Regions from separate parts of the Homo sapiens genome. Here all the other regions are linked to region 5. The links are contacts of gene promoters, found by promoter capture Hi-C in human tissues and cell types (Jung and others, 2019). All regions are on one chromosome and are shown on one strand. The core of a region is centred on a gene start or on the middle of the fragment in contact, and the rest is flanking DNA. Distances in the headings are between cores, read along the strand shown.

Region 1 (2,700 bases), core at 1-2,500, 410 kb before region 5:
AGGCTGATTGTCCCCAATCCTCCTGATTCCAGGCAGAGGGAACTTTAAAGTGAGCAGTTCTCAGGAACCACACAGAGACAAAGTTGAGGGGAAAATCCACCCTTAGGTATGAAAACAGTGACCTGGGGCAAAGCTCATTCCAATGAATGCTAGTCTGAGGGGAACTCCTGAGCACTGTGACCTCCAAGACCAGCTTGAGGACAGACTTCCCGGGCCCCTATCAACTACTGAATTTTCCACTTAGAGACAACGCTTAGAACATTCGACCACCAGATAGACATAGGAGCATTTCTCAGAAGGCTAGACAGCAGTTTCACCGTGGAGCGGGGCAAATCTGATCAGATCACCAGGAAAAGTCGCACAGCACCTCATTCCCAGAACAGAGCACACCTGAAGCGGAGGGGCCTCAAGGAAATATCAGCCTCCATGGGGCCTCAAGGAAATATCAGCCTCCATTCAGCCCGAGCTGCCTTCCAGCTGTGGGCCACCCGGCACCTCAGACAGAGGGAGACACCCTGTATGTCTCAGCTGTGTCCACCCTAACTGAGGCGGGGGTTCTTGTCCAAGGGGGAGGGCTTCAGCTGACTCAGGGAACCTCTATTTCTGCCAATCCTCCTAAGCTAAAAAACCACCAAGAACTCACCTGTAGCTGAACCAAAATGGGTTTATTGACTTGTTGCACAAAGGAAGAATGTCCAGCAGTAAAGAGGGCCTTCAAAAGAACTTGCTATAGATGCGGGCTCGTGGCTGGTGAGTCTCAGGAGGGCTTAGGAAGCAAGGCCTTTCTCTGGGTTGGATATCGTGCATAAAGGGACCACATGGCACAGGATTCCATTCTATGCAAAAGTGCAGAACAGGCAAATCCAGAGAGACAGAAGGTAGGTTTGTGGTTGCTGGGGGCTAGGGGAAAGAAGTGTGGAGACTGACCATGCGTATGAGGTTTCTTTGTGGAGGTGATGAAAATGTTTAGAATTAGATAGTAGTGATGGACGCACAATTTTGTGAATATATATGAAAACCACTTTAAAAGGGTGATTTTTATGTTAGGTGAATGATATCTCAATTTTTAAAAAGTGAAAATAAAAAGAGGGGCCTCAAGATTTGGTGAGCTGATAGACTGATAGCAAGAGAGGATACTAAGGAAAGACACTAAGGAACACATATTCACAAAGCAGAACCGCCCAGAGCAGCAGGCTGTCAGCCTTTATGCCAGAGCCTCTGTTGGCTTCTGTCAGTGCAACCCCGCAGACACACACAGCATCGCCATGGGCTGGCCGAGGTGCCGAGGAGCACACAGAGGACTGAGACATGGTCCCTGCACTCTGGGGGAAATGACATCTCAACACAATAATGGTGTTCATCATCAGGACCCCAAGTCATGATGAAAAGGTTAAATTATTCTCAAAATGCTCAATTGTAAGAAAGCAGAGGAGTGGATCGTAAGGAATAAATGTATGAAAAAAATTTCAAAATTGCCAACCTTTTCAAGAAATATTGAAACCTCTGGTGCAGGAAGGTAATCTGTGTGGAGTGGCAGCCAGGGAATGGGATGCTGTGTGTGTGTGGAGAGGCAAACATCCCCATAGTCTTCAGGATCCCCCGAGAGGGGCCGAGTCAGAGGCCGTCAAAGCCTCCAGTCCCCTGGGCATCCAGGGCCTCATGGCAACTGTACCAGTTGTTCTCACTTTTGTTATTCTTCCATAGAACTCAACGTGCCTCTCACGCAGGGACTCAGGATGGTGCTGAGTCCAGGTGGAGGGAAGGGGTCGGATGGGGGGCTGGGTGGGGGACATGGTGGGGGCTCTGTTGGAACCTGCCACCCTTCTGGCTCTCTACCGTGTTTTTCTTAGTTAGTGGGAGGTCTGTGAGCTCCATACCTCCAGGGCCTAGCTGTGAAGCTGTTGCTGGTGTGGATCTGTCCAATGGAGTTTGCTGGGTGGGGGAAGGTGTGAGGGAACCTCCATCTTGGAACGGCATCTCCAGAATGCAGGAGTGAGGCTGGCACACAGCACGGCCTCTGTGGACAGGGGGTCCAGGGAGGTTGGGGAGGGGCCTCAGGGATGGAGGGACAGAACTGGGGCCTCCCATTCTATCCACATCAGCCTGGTGAGTTCAGATCATCTCTTTAGCACCTTATCACCACTTCCACACTCAGGTGATTTCAAGGAACCTTAGGTCCCCAATTGCCACAAGCTTTGGGGCACAGCTCCTGCCTTGTAAAATAAATATTTTGGAGATTTTAAAGATGTAAATTCAAACTGGCTTTTGGAAAAGACAGGTTTTAAGGGATGGTTCCCATTCTAATGTCGGGGCTTTCCATCAGGCCACCCTGGGCAGAACCCGGGGGCGAAAAGAGAGAAATGAACAAAGCCTCCAAAAAATATGGGACTATGTGAAAAGACCAAATCTACAATTGACTGGTGTACCTGAAAGTGACAAGGAGAGTGGAACCAAGCTAGAAAACACTCTTCAGGATATTATCCAGGAGAATTTCCCCAACCTAGCAAGGCAGGCCAACATTCAAATTAAGGAAATACAGAGACCACCACAAAGATACTCCTCGAGAAGAGCAACCCCAAGACACATAATTGTCAGACTCACCAGGGTTCAAATAAAGGAAAAAATGGTAAGGGCAGCCAGAGAGAAAGGTTGGGTTACCCACAAAGGGGAGCCCATCAGACTAACAGCAGATCTCTCAGC
Region 2 (2,700 bases), core at 130-2,629, 390 kb after region 5:
ACTCGATAGGGAATTAGGTTTATTTGTGCCACTTTGTTTTCAGTTTTAATGACTGTATTTACATATACATGCATACACATTCCTTTCCCCGCTGCTTTGTATTCCTTTCCCCAGTACAAAAGATGGCATACTGTGTGCAATTTCTGCACCTTGCTTTCTTCACTTCACCCTGTGTCCTGGAGTTCACACCCTACTTTACAGAGCTTCCGCATTCTCTTGTATATCTGCATAATAATCCATTGTGTTGCTCTGCCTCATCAGTCCTGAATTTGATGAATATTCAGATGGTGCTCCAGTTTGACTTTTGAAAATAATGGTGCAAATAACCATGTGCATCTGCCATTTCATATTTTTGCAAGCATATCTTTGTTTTGTTTTTGTTTCTGTTTGATACAGAGTCTTGCTCTGTCGCCCAGGCTGGAGTGCAGTGGCATTTTGTATCTTAAAGGTATTTTCTGACTTTCTTGTACCTGGAAGTCTACTTCTCTAGTAAGATTAGATAATTTTTTCTGAATTATTCTTTTAAATATGCTTTCCAGGTTGCTTATCTTTTCTTCTCTTCCAAGAATGCCTGTAAGTCATAGGTTTGGTCACTTTACATAATCCCATATTTCTTGAATTTTCATTTTTTAAAAATTCTTTTTTTCTTTATTTTTATTTGACTGAGTTAATTTGAAAGAGCAGTCTTCAGGCTCTGAAATTCCTTCTTCTGCTTGACCTAATCTATTATTAAAGCTTTCAAATATATTTTGAAAATCTTTAAGTGAATTTTTCATTTTTAGAACTTCTGTTTTTTAGATATCTATCTCTTCATCTCCTGGATTGCTTTCATGGTTTCTTTGTGTTGGTTTTCAAGCTTCTCTTGGATCTCATTGAGCTTCCTTGCAATCCATACTTTGTATTTTTCATCTGTCATTTCTGAGTGTTCATCTTGGTTAAGGTCTATTGATCCTTAGGTGGTGTCACAGCATTCAGATTTTTCATGGTGCAATAATCCTTACTCTGGTTTCTTCTCATTTGGGGAAGCTGACACTTCTTATTTTTAAATTTATTTTCATTTTGATGGGTTTTTTTCCCACTATTATTCCCCTTCCCCTGGGGGCGTGACTGTGGAAATGTTGGGTAGGGTCTTTTGGTTTTGCTTCTATAGATAGCCAGGTGCACTTTACTCTGCAGGTTTTACATTGAGCTGTGCAGTTTGACCTCCAGGCCAGTAGGCGGTGCCACCAGCCCATTTACGAGAGGGTTAATTGCGGTCACTCTGCAGACCTCTTTCTAATAATGGCCATTGTTGTTATCTCTCCCCTGCCCCTGACGTGGCTCTCTCAAAATCCTATTTGGGTAGAACAGTGACCTTTAAAGGGAGAGAAATTGCAAAGAGCCCATGAATTAGTTGAGGAGCAATTAAAAGCCGGCCATACAGAACCGTCAAACAACCCTTGGAATTCGCCCATTTTCGTCATCCCCAAAAAGTCTGGTAAATGGAGACTTTTGCATGCCTTGCGTGCTATCAATGCTAATTTGCAACCTATGGGGCCCCTTCAGTAGGGGCTCCCCTCCCCTGCAGCGATTCCTTGAGATTGGCCTATAATCGTTATTCACTTAAAAGACTGTTTTTATACTATTCCCCTTGCAGAACAGGACAGAGAAAAATTTGTGTTTACAATACCAGCTATCAATAATGAAAGGCCAGCTCACCGATTTCATTGGAAAGTGCTACCCCAAGGAATGCTGAGCAGTCCTACCATGTGTCAGTATCATGTAAATCAGGCTTTGCTCCCCAGTAGAAAAGAATTTCCTAATTGCAAGATTATTCATTTTATGGATGATATTTTACTAGCAGCCCCAACAGAGCCAGTACTTTTAAAGTTACGTGCCTCTGTCATAAGGAATACACAGTTAAGAGGTTTAATCGTAGCACCTGAAAAAGTACAAATTTCCTCTCCTTGGAAATACCTTGAGTATATACTAACTACCCGGTCAGTAAGACCCCAAAATGTTAAATTAAATACTGGCAACTTACATACCTTGAATGATTATCAGAAATGACTAGGTGATATTAACTGGCTTCGCCCAACCTTGGGCATAACTACTGATAAGTTACAGAACCTGTTGTCTATCTTAAAAGACAATGCTGCCCTAGACTCTCTAGGTATTTAACTCCTGCAGCACAAAGGGAAATTGAAGAGATAGAGCAAGCTATTTCTTAGAGGCAACTAGATTGCATTGATCCATGGTATTCAGTTCAATTATTTGTTTTTCCCACTAAACACACCTCTACAGGGCTAATAGGACAGATGACCCCAGGGCTGTCCTAGGATGGGTTTTTTGCTCACATACTGGGACTAAAACAGTCTCTCCCTATATCCAGTTAGTTAGTAAAGTCATCTATTTAGGCTGCAGACAAGGCAATCTATTACTAGGTTATGACCCTAATATCATCAGAATTCCTTTAAGTAAAAAGCAATTTGAAGCAGTATTGCCCTTATCTATGGACCTGCAAATAGCACTCTCTGATTACACAGGCCGTATAAAGCACGCCCTTCCTGCTGACAAACTCCTTCAGTTCTTATCTCGTACTTCTGTGCTTTCGCCTACAAAAATAGTTCAATCCCCCATACCTAATGCTTTAACACTGTTTATTGATGGCTCTGGTAAAGATGGAAAAGCAGCTGTCTGGTGGAGATGGCATAATTCCCT
Region 3 (2,700 bases), core at 157-2,656, 450 kb after region 5:
TCACTGGGGTTTGGTGTACAGATTATTTCATCACTCAGGTAATAAGCATACTGCCCAATAAGTAGTATTTGATCCTCTCCATCCTCCCACCTTCCACCCTCAAGTAGGCCCTGGCGTCTGTCATTCCCTTCTTTGTGTCCGTGTGTCCTCAATGGAACACATGTTCTAAAACTGTAAAGAACTGCGTAAATAAGACACTATCATCTTTGTTAATGAAGATCCTTTAAACTTTACTCTTCTACATCCTCAGTTTGAAGATCAGTGATTATACTGGATGCTCATGCCCTTACAACCAACTTCTGCTACATTACATAAGGCTCCCCAACTATACTTATAGCATTTTTTAGTTTCCTTCTGTTCTTCACTGTCAGGCCATTAGTGTCACTTTTTGTCATTCTCAAGAAGAATCCACATGTCCACCTCTTGCAGTCAGCAGTTGATACCTCCTAATGCAATGGTTGTTAACAATTTCAGTCAACACGCTCTTTGTGAGTATTGCTCCTTTTATCATTCTTCCTCCAAAAAAATTAAACATACATTGATTTTGTGGGCATTTTATCAAATCTGGGAGAATTCCATAACAACTCTGCATGGCCCTTGTCAGAATTAATTTAACTAGAAGATGGTCCTCTTTTTCTTTATCTGTCTTTTTTTACAACTCCAAAATAGGATGACAAATAAATAAAATGTTTCATTTTTTAAAGCTTATAATTTAGAGGAGAAACAAGATGAATTTAACTGCAGAGGAAGAAGGGAGAAGTTGCCCTCCTGTGGCTGCTACAGGTAAAACGACATTCAAGCTTCCCTCTGCACCACTTCTTTTGCAGGTTAAAATAAAGGAATCTCCTCTGAATAAGCCAGAATTGAAACACAAGACCCACAGAGAAGAAAACGTCACGTTAGGGTACAGAATACAAGTTCTAACAAGCTCCCAAAAATGGAGAGATCTACCCGAAACCCATGTTGAACAATGGGACAATCAGTGGTGATCCTGATACACTGCAGATTAAAAGCCCTCCTTCCTTTGTCCTGTCCTCCTGGACAACACATAACCTTCCTGGATTCTCATGCAATTGCAATGAGGAGAAAAGAGCTCCAAAATAACTGAGATTGAACTTCCTATGAGGCTGGCATAACAGGATATTAGAACCAGATTTCCTTGCACACTCAGGTGTGTTGACAGTTATACCCAACACAACAAAGAGAAAGGCATAGTGTACAAGAAACAGTAGATGTAAACCAAACGAGCCGGGAAGGGAAGTCCTTGAATAACAACCATGAACAGGACTAAAGGATAGTGAGTCTAGTGTGGAGTAGCAGAAGGAGGATGCTGAGAAGAACAGATCAAAGCACAATGCTGTATAATAGAAAGATTGGGAGGATTGAAGATCAAGGGTATAACAGATAATTCAAGGAAAGGTGACTAGCAATATCGGAAAAAAATTAAAGTTGTACAAGAAAGGAGGATTTAAATAGGAATCAAATTGAAGTGTGGCTTGAGTTGAAATAATAGATGGAGTCTAAGTAAATAGAGGCCATGTGATCTGAGTGATGGAAGCAATCTCCTCTGGATAAATCAGAATTGAAACACAGTACCCACAGAGAAGAAAACATAATGTTAGCCCATATCTTGGCCCAAAAGAAATGTGATTATGTAAAAATTTATTGATTAGAGTTAGCCTTTGGACAAAGCACGGACATTCGGCCATGGTGTAGTATAGAATGTAAATGTCAACAACCTTGACAAGGTACAATTTAAAATGTGGCTGAAGTAAGAAGGAAAGGGATGAAGGAATATGAGGGGAGTATGGGAACAACTGTTCTCATTTTAATGAGATGAAACAAAAAATAGATGGCCAAGGATACTATTTAGACTTACAAAAGTAACCAACAAATTAATGAAAAGTAATAATATCATTACTTAATTATCAAAAGTCAAAGTAGAAAATGTAAAAATGAAAAGGAAAGTGGAAAAGAATTAGAGGAGCAGGGAGTACTGGATTGCAATTTGCAGAAATAGAAATATGAGTTTTATTTAGAATCATGGAAAAAATCACTAGAAGAACTTAAAAAAAAAAAGCTGACCAGGCATGGTGGCTCACACTTGTAATCTCAGCATTTTGGGAGGCTGAGGCGGGCAGATCATGAGGTCAAGAGATCAAGACCATGCTGACCAACATGGTAAAACCCCGTCTGCACTAAAAACACAAAAATTAGCTGGGCATGGTGGTGCTTGCCTGTAGTCCCAGCTACTCAGGGGGCTGAGGCAGGAGAATCACTTGAACCCAGGAGGCAGAGGTTGCAGTGAGCCAAGATCAAGCCACTGCACTCCAGCCTGGTGACAGAGCGAGACTCCGTCTCAAAATTTAATTAAAAAAAAGCTTAAATAACTTGCATCTGCACAGTAGTGCCAGGAAAGATTGGTTGCTTTTCATAATAAACTCTTTGGAACAATTTGAATTATCACCACGTGCATATTTTATTTTGGTGTTAATTTTTAAAATTTATTATTGACCTGTATGATGTCAGAGTTTGCATTCTTTTTATTATTTCATGCTGCCCAAACTGGTGATATAGGAATATACATTATTGCAAGTAATTAAAGCATTACAACGGCAACAACGAATCCCCCTGAGTGTATCAGAGCACAGGAATAAGAATGGGGAATCTTTTATACAATGTCCAGAAATCATGTCTAAC
Region 4 (2,700 bases), core at 29-2,528, 470 kb after region 5:
TTAAAGCCAAAGGCATTACTAAATTTAAAGAAAGTGACTCCACAATGATAAAAAAATTAATTTGCCATGTACAAGTAATAATTATAACATTGTATATACCTCATCATGGCTTAAATATACAGGTATCTCTTTCTATAAGAAGCTTTAATATCCAAATATTTGCTAAATTAATTTAAAAAATTGTTGTGCCAAATTTCTATTCAAGGGGGAAAAATGTGTTAGAATCTACATATGCATCACAGTTACAACTATTCAAGTTGCTCATGAGTCCAGGTGAGAAGATGTTCAGTACTACCAACTTCCCAATCCTTTCCCAATTGCTTATCCCTTTATAGGCTCCTACTGCCAGATTCTTCTGAGTATCAATCAATATAGGCTCAATTTGGATGATGGGATTCTTCTTTATATTATGGTATTTTCAGTGCAATGGAAAAGAATAACATAATTTGTATCATATATCATGCAACTGTTGCATATAGTCATGCCCACCAATAAGTTTAATATGCACTAAATAATTAGGTAATTTGTTTTAAAGTATGTTATGCAGAAATCCTTTGTGGATACAGATTAATGACCATTTTGGTAGTTGTTTGGAAAATTTGTTGAGGTTTTTATATAACATAAAAATAAACTGTCATTATCATTGCCATTTAAAATGATGGATTACAGGCTCTAGTTATCTCAAACTTTGCTAACCATCATATTTTCAGGAATAGATTAGATTTGGGTAACAAGAAATGCTTGCAAGCAAAGAAAGATTTGACAAAATTTAAATGAGAAATAGACAAATTCCCAATCAGCGAGAGATCTTAACACATATTTCTCAGAAATAAAACAAATAAACCAAGAATACAGGATATAGCAGTATCGAACACCCTGCTTGCCAAACTTGATTGAATCAACATATATAAAATGCCAAATCCCTAACTGCAGAATAAAATTTATTTCCAGGTTACATTAATAGCCAACACCAAGTTGCCAGCCATGTGAGTGAGCCATCTAGAAAACATGTCTTTCAACTCTTGTCAGGCCTTCAGATGATTGTAGTTCCAACTACCATCTTGACCAAAAAGATTTCTTTATGGTATATTGAGGAAGGAAAGTCATAATTTTCAAAAGATACTGCCTTATAAATCTTCTAACAAACAAAATAGTACAGTCTCTGAAACAATAAATATTTGTGTAATGAAGTGTGAAGAAAGAAAAAAATGAATAACAAGTGAAAGAATGGAACAAAGAGAGGAAGGGTGCATTCTATCATTAATGGAAAAGAGGAAACGAGAAGATTGATTAAAGGGAAACAGGTATCTTTCCATTTCTGTGAACCTCTATAACATAAGGATTATGTGTAAATTCAGGAAGAAATTATCATTTCATGATAGGGTTCAATTTTAAAGACGTCAGGGAAAAAATTACGTCAGTAATTCTTCTCTTCTTTCCAATTAAGCTTCTACTCATAGGTAAATCTTATTCATCTCACATATTGAATTCCTTCTAGTTTCACAGATAACATCATTCCAGCCCCATCCTGTAGGTTTCCAGAAGACTATTGAAGCACATTGCTCTGCAGAATGATTGGGCTCACCTAGGTGCCAAAATCTAAAGGAAAACAAAAAGGTAGTACACATCTTCAAAGAATGCATGGTGAATGATTAGAAAGTATAAAAGTCTGGGGTGAACAAAGTGGGATTTAGGAAGAGAGAACATTCCAATGATTGTTCCTTCTTCTCATACTACTCTCCTCAAATCCTCAAGTATGGACACATACTTTTACACTTGCTCCTTTAACATTCTGCTGGCAAAATTTTATGAGATGGTTTATTCCTAGATCTTTCCGCTGCAATCATCTTCCTCTTTACAGAGCCTTTATGCTGGCGGGGTTATTAAATAATTTCCTTCTTACTGACATGAAATAAAGAGGCTATCTCCTTACATCTATGTATTCTTATCACCTTCCTAAGCTTCTTTATTCTCATGGATCTGCCTTAAGTGAATCTTAGGATGCCTGAATCTGGATGTAAAAGTTACCCTGCCTCCAGGGAATACGTTCTGGGTAAAGACTGGGAGGTTGGACATAACTTTTGGAATTACAAGACCTGGTTTTGATACTCACTCATTTTGATCATGGGGAAGTAATTCAATCTCCCCAGGTATTAGATTCCTCATCTTTAAAAATGGGAATTATAATAAGGTCCCTAACTAACTCACAAGATTTTGGAAGAATCAAATAAGATAATGTATAACTGAATTCTATTTTAAAGCCACAAGTAAATAGTATTATTATGTAATTTTTCTACTAAAATTGTACATAGTTCTGACCCAGATATTTTAAGTTTTATTAATTAGAGATCAGTTTAAGTGTCTACTTGTGTTTAGAAACAGCAAAATATAATAGTTTAGAGCACCATCTCTGGAATCAGATAGACATGGAGTTGACATCCAGTTTCTCATCTTATTAGTTTATTGATTTGGGGCAAGTTATTTAATTTTTTATCTGTAAAATTAGTTCATAAAAAGAGAAGTTTTCATGAAGTTTAAGTGAGATAATGCATATCCTTAGTAATGCTTAATAATTGTTAGATCCTGTTATCATAATTACCAATATTAACATTATTAGTAACTCCTAACAAAATTTCCCTAGATTTTCTATGTAAACAAGGCCCCAGAACTGCACTCACCTGACATTTTTCTCATAAGGTG
Region 5 (2,700 bases), core at 182-2,681:
ACTTTCATTTTCAGGAAGAAAAAAATTTAATTTTTTTTTTTATTGGGGCAACATCCAACCCAGATATGATTACTACCTAGCCTGAACTGAATGTATTACTAATAAACAAAGAAATGCAGAATGGCATACAGTCGGTAAAGCGTAGTGCTTGAGAGCATGGATTATGGAGACTATTTAAATACTGGCTCCATAACTTAATAGCTTGGGACCCACGGTGTTACTTAGCTTCTATCTGCTTTAATTTACTCATCTGTAAACTTGGGATAAGATACTTCCTCATAAGGTTGGTGTGAAGACCAAGTGAATTAACTATCGTTTAAAGCACTTACAAAAGTGCCGGGCACCACCGAGATATGCATCCGTTAGCTTTTATTATTATTAGACTCAAAACACTGTAGTAGTTCTAATGAGAGGGGTAAGAATCAAAAATCCAGGCACCTGCATAGAGCCAGAGAGGCACACATAGAAGCAACGTAAGAGTGGAAGCGGAATGAAAACATGCTAAAGCCAGGTACAAGCCACAAGCGAGGGTCCACAGGAAGAAATTGTTAATTCTGAAGAGAGTGAATGCACGAAGTTACAGGAAAAATAACATCTGAACAGAGTTTAAGAATGAGCAGGACTTCAACAAGTGGCTAGTAAGACATAAGGAACCTACAAAAGATCTTAGCAAAGGCGCAAAGATTACCATCGTATTGCTCGTTTCTTCCTACTTTGCAGAAGTAACCTCTGGCGAACAGAGGTGGTTGCAGAGCATGCTTATCAAGCAAAATACCACGAAGCAGTAAGGAACGACAGAGATAACAGTAACAATAATAATTCACCCCAAGGTACTCAACTGGAAAAAGGAAATACAGAGGAGAGGTGTCGTTAAGAAAGCCAGGACGCACATCACGGCCCCGTCGCTGCACTACTCTCGTCTAGGGGTCAACAGTGGAGTCGAGACTCGAAGCTTCCACGCGGCGGAACAGCGTCCCTCTCAGGCGGCGAACGGGCTAGGGAAGCGCCCGGAGGAGACCTAGCGTGAGAACTACAACTCCCGCGGAGCCCGAGGGCGAGCTGCCTGCGTAACTTCCGCTTCCGCCACCTGCCCCTCTCACCCTCTTCACTCGAACCCTACCCGGGAGCGGTCAGGCGCGTGACCCCGCGTGACCGGGGTGCGCGAGCCGAGAGGCCCTGGAAGCGGGACTCTGGGACCCCATTGAAAGAAAGGCAACCAGAAAAGGCGAAACGACAACCTCGATAGTGATTGGAGCTGATGGAACGAGGGCGGAGCTAAAGTCCCAGAATACTGGCCAATCAGAGTTTAAGATTATCAGGGAGCCCGGGAAGGGGAAAGGGGCGAAATGGTTCTATGGTCACATGCCGCGGGGTCTGGTGGGAGGAGCGGTTGCCCAGCGGCCTCTTGGCGCTTCCTGTTTCCGGTTCCCAGAGTGGGGCACAGCGAGGCGCTAGGGGGAACGCTGGCCTCTGAAACTAGCTCTGGGACCGGGGTCTGCGGCCGGCCCCTAGCTGGCCCCGTCTCCCATCCCCAGAAGGGTATTCACTGGGGATTCTGAGCTTTGGCTACTCCAGTTTCCCACGACACGTGAGTGTGAGGGGCGTGGAGGAGGAGGCGGGCTGGGTTGCGCTCACACTTAAGCGTCTGTGACAGGAGCCGGAATCGCATTCTCCCTTGACCATGGTTCTAGCCAAAGATCTGGCTGAGGAGCCCTAAGGGTAGAATGGAGGCGGAGGCATGAGAGCGGAGAGTCACGGAGTTCCGAAAGGTGTGAGGGAGAAAGGACTTCCAAGACCAGAGAGGGGATTTACGATATTTAGAAAGCAGGGAAAGGAAAATACCCCAAGTATGGAGTCCGTTGGAGGTGTTGGTGGATTTATTTGTAGGAGGAATTTTGGCCTGCATCACGGTGGGAGGTCAAGTGGCATCATTTGGAGAGGGTATGGCTACAAGCGCTTGGAAAGTCGGGACACTAGACAGAGCGAGAATTTCTGGCACCCTGGGAGAGCTTTGAGGGGGATGCGACTGTGGTGTGGATAAGAATGGCTGATGGACGGATTATCTTGTGTTCCTCGTTGTGGGGAGCTTCCGCTCTTGGGACATAGCCGCTACTTGTCTGAGGCTCCTTCTCTCTTGAGTTCTTTCAGCATTAGGCCTTTTAGCCAATTGAGGCTGCTTTTCTAAACATGTAGGCTGCTGGAGAAAAAGGGATAAGGACTGCTACATCAGAAAGGAGCCAGCGGGAAGACAGTAGAAATTCCACTGGTAAATGGCCATGGCTGTCTTAACAGATGGGGAAGTGAGTGCTACAGAGGCCCAGTGGTGTAAGCTGCTTCCCAGTTGCTGGCTTAGTCATTGGCCACCCTAATAAAGGATAATTTTTAGCATTGCCAAATAAAATAGATCTGTCGTTAGAGAATAAGAAAACTGAAAGATTTTTCAAGATCATAAAATCCTGCTCCTTATTTCCAAAGTATATAGACAAACTCTTGTACCTTGAGAATCTAATTGTAGCATATTAAAAGGGGGCTACTGGGCCCTTCCATTTCATTCTCTTCCTGATTGTTGCACCCCTATGTTTATAAGTTTTCCAGCAGTTATCTTTATGCCACGAATCGTCTAAATTGCCCCAGTAACTTCACACACATTTAATATCTGTGTAATGTACAGCAAGTAATTTAACAAGTAATTCTGTAAAG
Region 6 (2,700 bases), core at 175-2,674, 350 kb after region 5:
ATAGAGAAGGAACACAGGTCTGGCCAGGGACGTGCTGCAATTGGTGCAGTTTTGAATGCAACATTGTCCCCTACTGGGAATAACAGAACTGCAGGACCTGGGAGCATCCTAAAGTGTCAACGTTTTTCTATGACTTTTAGGTAGGATGAGAGCAGAAGGTAGATCCTAAAAAGCATGGTGAGAGGATCAAATGTTTTTATATCAACATCCTTTATTATTTGATTCATTTGAGTTAACAGTGGTGTTAGTGATAGATTTTTCTATTCTTTTCCCTTGACGTTTACTTTCAAGTAACACAAACTCTTCCATCAGGCCATGATCTATAGGACCTCCTAATGAGAGTATCTGGGTGATTGTGACCCCAAACCATCTCTCCAAAGCATTAATATCCAATCATGCGCTGTATGTTTTAATCAGCAGAAGCATGTTTTTATGTTTGTACAAAAGAAGATTGTTATGGGTGGGGATGGAGGTATAGACCATGCATGGTCACCTTCAAGCTACTTTAATAAAGGATCTTAAAATGGGCAGGAGGACTGTGAACAAGACACCCTAATAATGGGTTGATGTCTGAAGTAGCAAATCTTCTGGAAACGCAAACTCTTTTAAGGAAGTCCCTAATTTAGAAACACCCACAAACTTCACATATCATAATTAGCAAACAATTGGAAGGAAGTTGCTTGAATGTTGGGGAGAGGAAAATCTATTGGCTCTCGTGGGTCTCTTCATCTCAGAAATGCCAATCAGGTCAAGGTTTGCTACATTTTGTATGTGTGTGATGCTTCTCCCAAAGGTATATTAACTATATAAGAGAGTTGTGACAAAACAGAATGATAAAGCTGCGAACCGTGGCACACGCTCATAGTTCTAGCTGCTTGGGAGGTTGAGGAGGGAGGATGGCTTGAACACAGGTGTTCAAGGCCAGCCTGGGCAACATAACAAGATCCTGTCTCTCAAAAAAAAAAAAAAAAAAAAGAAAGAGAGAGGGCCGGGCGTGGTGGCTCACGCCTGTAATCCCAGCACTTTGGGAGGCCGAGCCGGGCGGATCACCTGTGGTCAGGAGTTTGAGACCAGCCTGGCCAACATGGCAAAACCCCGTCTGTACTCAAAATGCAAAAATTAGCCAGGCGTGGTAGCAGGCACCTGTAATCCCAGCTACTTGGGAGGCTGAGGCAGGAGAATCGCTTGAACCCAGGAGGTGGAGGTTGCAGTAAGCTGAGATCGTGCCGTTGCACTCCAGCCTGGGCGACAAGAGCAAGACTCTGTCTCAGAAAAAAAAAAAAAAAAGAGAGAGAGAGAGAAAGAGAACAATATTTGGGAGAGAAGGATGGGGAAGCATTGCAAGGAAATTGTGCTTTATCCAACAAAATGTAAGGAGCCAATAAGGGATCCCTATTTGTCTCTTTTGGTGTCTATTTGTCCCTAACAACTGTCTTTGACAGTGAGAAAAATATTCAGAATAACCATATCCCTGTGCCGTTATTACCTAGCAACCCTTGCAATGAAGATGAGCAGATCCACAGGAAAACTTGAATGCACAACTGTCTTATTTTAATCTTATTGTACATAAGTTTGTAAAAGAGTTAAAAATTGTTACTTCATGTATTCATTTATATTTTATATTATTTTGCGTCTAATGATTTTTTATTAACATGATTTCCTTTTCTGATATATTGAAATGGAGTCTCAAAGCTTCATAAATTTATAACTTTAGAAATGATTCTAATAACAACGTATGTAATTGTAACATTGCAGTAATGGTGCTACGAAGCCATTTCTCTTGATTTTTAGTAAACTTTTATGACAGCAAATTTGCTTCTGGCTCACTTTCAATCAGTTAAATAAATGATAAATAATTTTGGAAGCTGTGAAGATAAAATACCAAATAAAATAATATAAAAGTGATTTATATGAAGTTAAAATAAAAAATCAGTATGATGGAATAAACTTGAGAGTCCAGAAGTTATCCCATACATCTGTAATCAACTAATTTCTCACAAGGGTGTAAGGACCATTCAATGGAGAAAAAATGATCTTCTCAACAAATGGTGCTGAGCTAATTGGATATTACATGCAAAGGAATGAATTTGAGTCTCTACTACACACCATATATAAAAATTAATTAAAAATTCATCAAATACCTAAATATTAGAGACTAATTTATAAACCGTAGAGAGAAACATAGGTAAAAATGTTTATGGCTTTAGATTAGGCAACAGCTTCTTAATTATGACATCAAAAGCACAAGCAACCAAAGACAAAAATAAATAAGTTGGACTTCATCGAAATTAAAAATCTTTGTGCATCAAAGGACACTTAGTAAGAAAGTGAAAAGACAACCCACAGAAGTGGGAGAAAACACTTGCAAATCATATATCTGATAAGGGTTGTGATATTATGATATATATATAGGTTTTTGTCCATAGTTCCTGGCTTATAAACCCCCTCACCCTTGTTACAGTCATTTGTTATAAGGTTGGATGGTTTAGGCCTCAGAAGCAAAACTCTCTCTCTCACCTTCTCCAGCCCTCCTGTCTCTGGCACCTCATTCTTCCCTGAGGCCACATAGAAACTAGAATCTCTCTTCCACAAGGCGGTCAAAGAAACCAGCACCTCCTTTCCCCCAAACCAGTCATAAAACCTAAAAATATTACTCTAATTCCCCCTCCTTTCCATATAAGCACTGGCTATAAGGAAATA
Region 7 (2,700 bases), core at 101-2,600, 330 kb after region 5:
GCATGTTGTCTTTTTTTTTTTTTTTTGGCAGAATCTCGCTCTGTCACCCAGGCTGGAGTGCCATGACACAATCTCGGCTCACTGCAACTTCTGCCTCCTGGGTTCAAAGGATTCTGCTGCCTCATCCTCCCGGGTAGTTGTGATTACAGGCATGCACCACCACACCCGGCTAATTTTTGTGTTTTTAGTAGAGACAAGGTTTCACCATGTTGGCCAGGCTGGTCTCAAACTCCTGACCTCAGGTAATCTGCCCGCCGGGGTCTCCCAAAGTGCTGGGATTATAGGCATGAGCCACCACTCCTGCCTTTAAGTATTATGTCTATTTTTAAAGCTTTTAACAACATTATAAACTGCTTGAAGAACTATAATGCACACCAGTATTCACCTTCGATGTTCCCCTTATGCTCTCTCATAATAGGCCTTTAATAAATATTAATCAGATGAATGAATTTCAGCTTTCAAAGGTAATCTTCATAAATTCGTCATAAAATCACTTTTTTAAATTGCCCCCAAAGGGGTAGAACATCAAAACAAACAGAATATTTGTTTCTCTCCAGGAACTTTATTTTCAAATGCTGAATATCTAAAACCGATTGATATATGTTAGAGAGAATCTTTTTTGCAGTCTATACACTGAAAAGATTTTCAAAACAGAAGGAGACATTATACAGGAATGTAGACTGTATTTTGTGTTGTGTTTATTAGGTTTTGCCAACACTATATCAAATATATTTTATAAAATAGAATAAACAAATATCCACAGATAATTCTGCCAACAGAGCCTCTTTTGATAAAGCAAGGAGCTCCAAGGAAGTACAGGTCCATGTTTCAATTAGATTTAGATTTAATACTTGCTAAGTCAACTGTCTACATTTTTGGGTGGAAGACAAAGTCTTTCTTGCATAAGCCATTTATTGAGTTTGCCTGACATATACCAATTCTAAATGATATAGTTATGTGGCGGCGGCAGGGGGATCTTTCTCTGTAGCTCTGATGAAGATTTCTAAATTGATATGGTCAAATAGATTAAGGTCTGTAGGATTGATTTTACCAGCTTGACAGTATTGCATGGGCTTTGGAGTAAGGCTGATGCTTTCAAATCTCAGTCCCAGCTTTTCTGCTTTCTAGCTGTTGGCTGAACTTGTTAGATAATGACTTTTTGTGTAGAGAATGGGATTACTCCCCAGTCAGACGCTGAGCAGGAAGAAAGAGGGCCCTTGTCAGGGAAGCTATTGGGCTTTAAAAAATAATTTCAGTTTCAGTAAGGATGTGAGTGTGTGTGTTTAAAGGAGGTGCCATTAAGAAATATGTGATAGGCTGGGCGTGCTGGCTCACGCCTTGTTATCCTAGCACTTTGAGAGGTCGAGGTGGGCAGATCACCTGAGGTCAAGAGTTTGAGACCAGGCTGGCCAACATGGTGAAACCCCGTCTCTACTGAAAATACAAAAAAATTGGCTGAGTGTGGTGGTTCGTGCCTGTAATCCCAGCATTTTGGGAGGCTGAGGTGGGTGGATCACTTGAGGTCAGAAGTTGGAGACCAGCCTGACTAACATGGTGAAACCCCATCATTACTAAAATGCAAAAATTAGCCTGGCTTGGTGGCGGGCGCCTGTAATCCCAGCTACTCAGGAGGTTGAGGCAGGAGAATTGCTTGAACCCGGGAGGCAGAGGTTGCAGTGAGCTGAGATCCCGCCATTGCACTCCAGCCTGGGTGACAGAGCAAGACTCTGTTTCAAAAAAAAAAAAAAAGAAAAGAAAAGAAAAAAAAGGAAAAAGAAATATGTGATAGATACAAAAATCCTCAATAAAGTAGTAACAAACCAAATTCAACAACACATCAGAAAGATTCTACACCATAACTAAGTGGGATTTATCCTTTGGAGTGGTTTAACACATACAAATCAATCAATGTGCTATGTCATATTAAAAACCACATGATCATGTCAAGAGATGCAGAAGCATTTGACAAACTTCAATACTCATTCATGGCAGAGAAAAAAAAAACGCATCAAAATAGGTATAGAAGGAAATTCCTTGGCACAATAACAGCCATTTATGAAAAGCACACAGCTAACATCAAAATTAATGGAAAAGCTGAAAACTTTTTCTCTAAGATCTTGTACAAGATGAGGATGCCCACTGTTGCCACTTCTATTCAACATAATGCTGGAAGTGCTAGCAAGAACAATCACACAAGAAAAATAAGAGGCATCCAAATTTGAGAGGAAGAAGTAAAATTATTTCTCTTTGTAGATGACATAATTCTGTATGTAGAAAACTAAGGAGTCCACACACAAAAAAACAATTAGAACTAATAAATTCAGTAAAGTTGCAGGATTAAAAAGCCAACATACAAAAAGTAGTTGCATTTATTTACAAGAACAAATATCTACCCGAAAAGGAAATCAAGAAACTAATTTCATTTATGATAGCATCAAAAAGAATACAATAGTTAAGAATAAACTTAACCAAGGAGGTAAGAGATATATACACTGAAACTTATAAAACATTGATGAAAGAAGTTGAAGAAGACGACAAATAAGTGGAAGGATATCCTGTGTTCATGGATTAGAAGAGTTAATATTGTTAAAATGTCTATATTGGCCTGGCACAGTGGCTCACGCCTATAATCGCAACACTTTGGGAGGCCAAGGCAGACAGATCATATGAGCCCAGGAGTTCGAGACCAGCCTGAGCAAC

Evidence for each region. Contacts are between HindIII fragments. The study calls those that stand out against the background at their distance.
Region 1: a fragment that was not itself captured here is called in contact with the fragment with the promoter of M6PR in region 5 in 1 of the 25 tissues and cell types used here (heart left ventricle).
Region 2: a contact is called between a fragment that was not itself captured here and the fragment with the promoter of M6PR in region 5, in 1 of the 25 tissues and cell types used here (lymphoblastoid cells).
Region 3: a contact is called between a fragment that was not itself captured here and the fragment with the promoter of M6PR in region 5, in 2 of the 25 tissues and cell types used here (lymphoblastoid cells and spleen).
Region 4: a contact is called between a fragment that was not itself captured here and the fragment with the promoter of M6PR in region 5, in 2 of the 25 tissues and cell types used here (lymphoblastoid cells and spleen).
Region 6: a fragment that was not itself captured here is called in contact with the fragment with the promoter of M6PR in region 5 in 1 of the 25 tissues and cell types used here (lymphoblastoid cells).
Region 7: a fragment that was not itself captured here is called in contact with the fragment with the promoter of M6PR in region 5 in 1 of the 25 tissues and cell types used here (spleen).

The regions. Positions count from the first base shown.
Region 1 is chr12:9,359,350-9,362,049 of GRCh38, reverse strand. No RefSeq gene overlaps it. Among named protein-coding and RNA genes, the nearest start is that of LINC02367, 6.8 kb to the left of the region's middle. The HindIII fragment of the contact is 4,916 bases long and covers 1-2,700 here.
Region 2 is chr12:8,561,025-8,563,724 of GRCh38, reverse strand. The region is part of intron 2 of LOC124902872 (a long non-coding RNA gene); the gene reads left to right. Among named protein-coding and RNA genes, the nearest start is that of CLEC4E, 21 kb to the right of the region's middle. RefSeq lists an enhancer at 1-343. The HindIII fragment of the contact is 4,770 bases long and covers 1-2,700 here.
Region 3 is chr12:8,497,900-8,500,599 of GRCh38, reverse strand. No RefSeq gene overlaps it. Among named protein-coding and RNA genes, the nearest start is that of CLEC4D, 14 kb to the left of the region's middle. The HindIII fragment of the contact is 6,261 bases long and covers 1-2,700 here.
Region 4 is chr12:8,476,219-8,478,918 of GRCh38, reverse strand. It overlaps CLEC6A (C-type lectin domain containing 6A), which reads right to left. Exons shown (of 6, transcript NM_001007033.2): 5 at 2,679-2,700; 6 at 589-1,599. The coding sequence ends at 1,455. Among named protein-coding and RNA genes, the nearest start is that of CLEC6A, 22 kb to the right of the region's middle. The HindIII fragment of the contact is 3,557 bases long and covers 1-2,700 here.
Region 5 is chr12:8,948,376-8,951,075 of GRCh38, reverse strand. It overlaps M6PR (mannose-6-phosphate receptor, cation dependent), which reads left to right and starts at 1,431. Exons shown (of 7, transcript NM_002355.4): 1 at 1,431-1,588. It also overlaps a transcript of KLRG1 not described here. RefSeq lists enhancers at 729-858, 357-1,261, 1,262-2,167 and a silencer at 837-1,051. The HindIII fragment of the contact is 13,158 bases long and covers 1-2,700 here.
Region 6 is chr12:8,601,417-8,604,116 of GRCh38, reverse strand. It overlaps AICDA (activation induced cytidine deaminase), which reads left to right. Exons shown (of 5, transcript NM_020661.4): 5 at 1-1,947. Among named protein-coding and RNA genes, the nearest start is that of AICDA, 10 kb to the left of the region's middle. The HindIII fragment of the contact is 7,401 bases long and covers 1-2,700 here.
Region 7 is chr12:8,621,350-8,624,049 of GRCh38, reverse strand. No RefSeq gene overlaps it. Among named protein-coding and RNA genes, the nearest start is that of AICDA, 9.8 kb to the right of the region's middle. The HindIII fragment of the contact is 6,629 bases long and covers 1-2,700 here.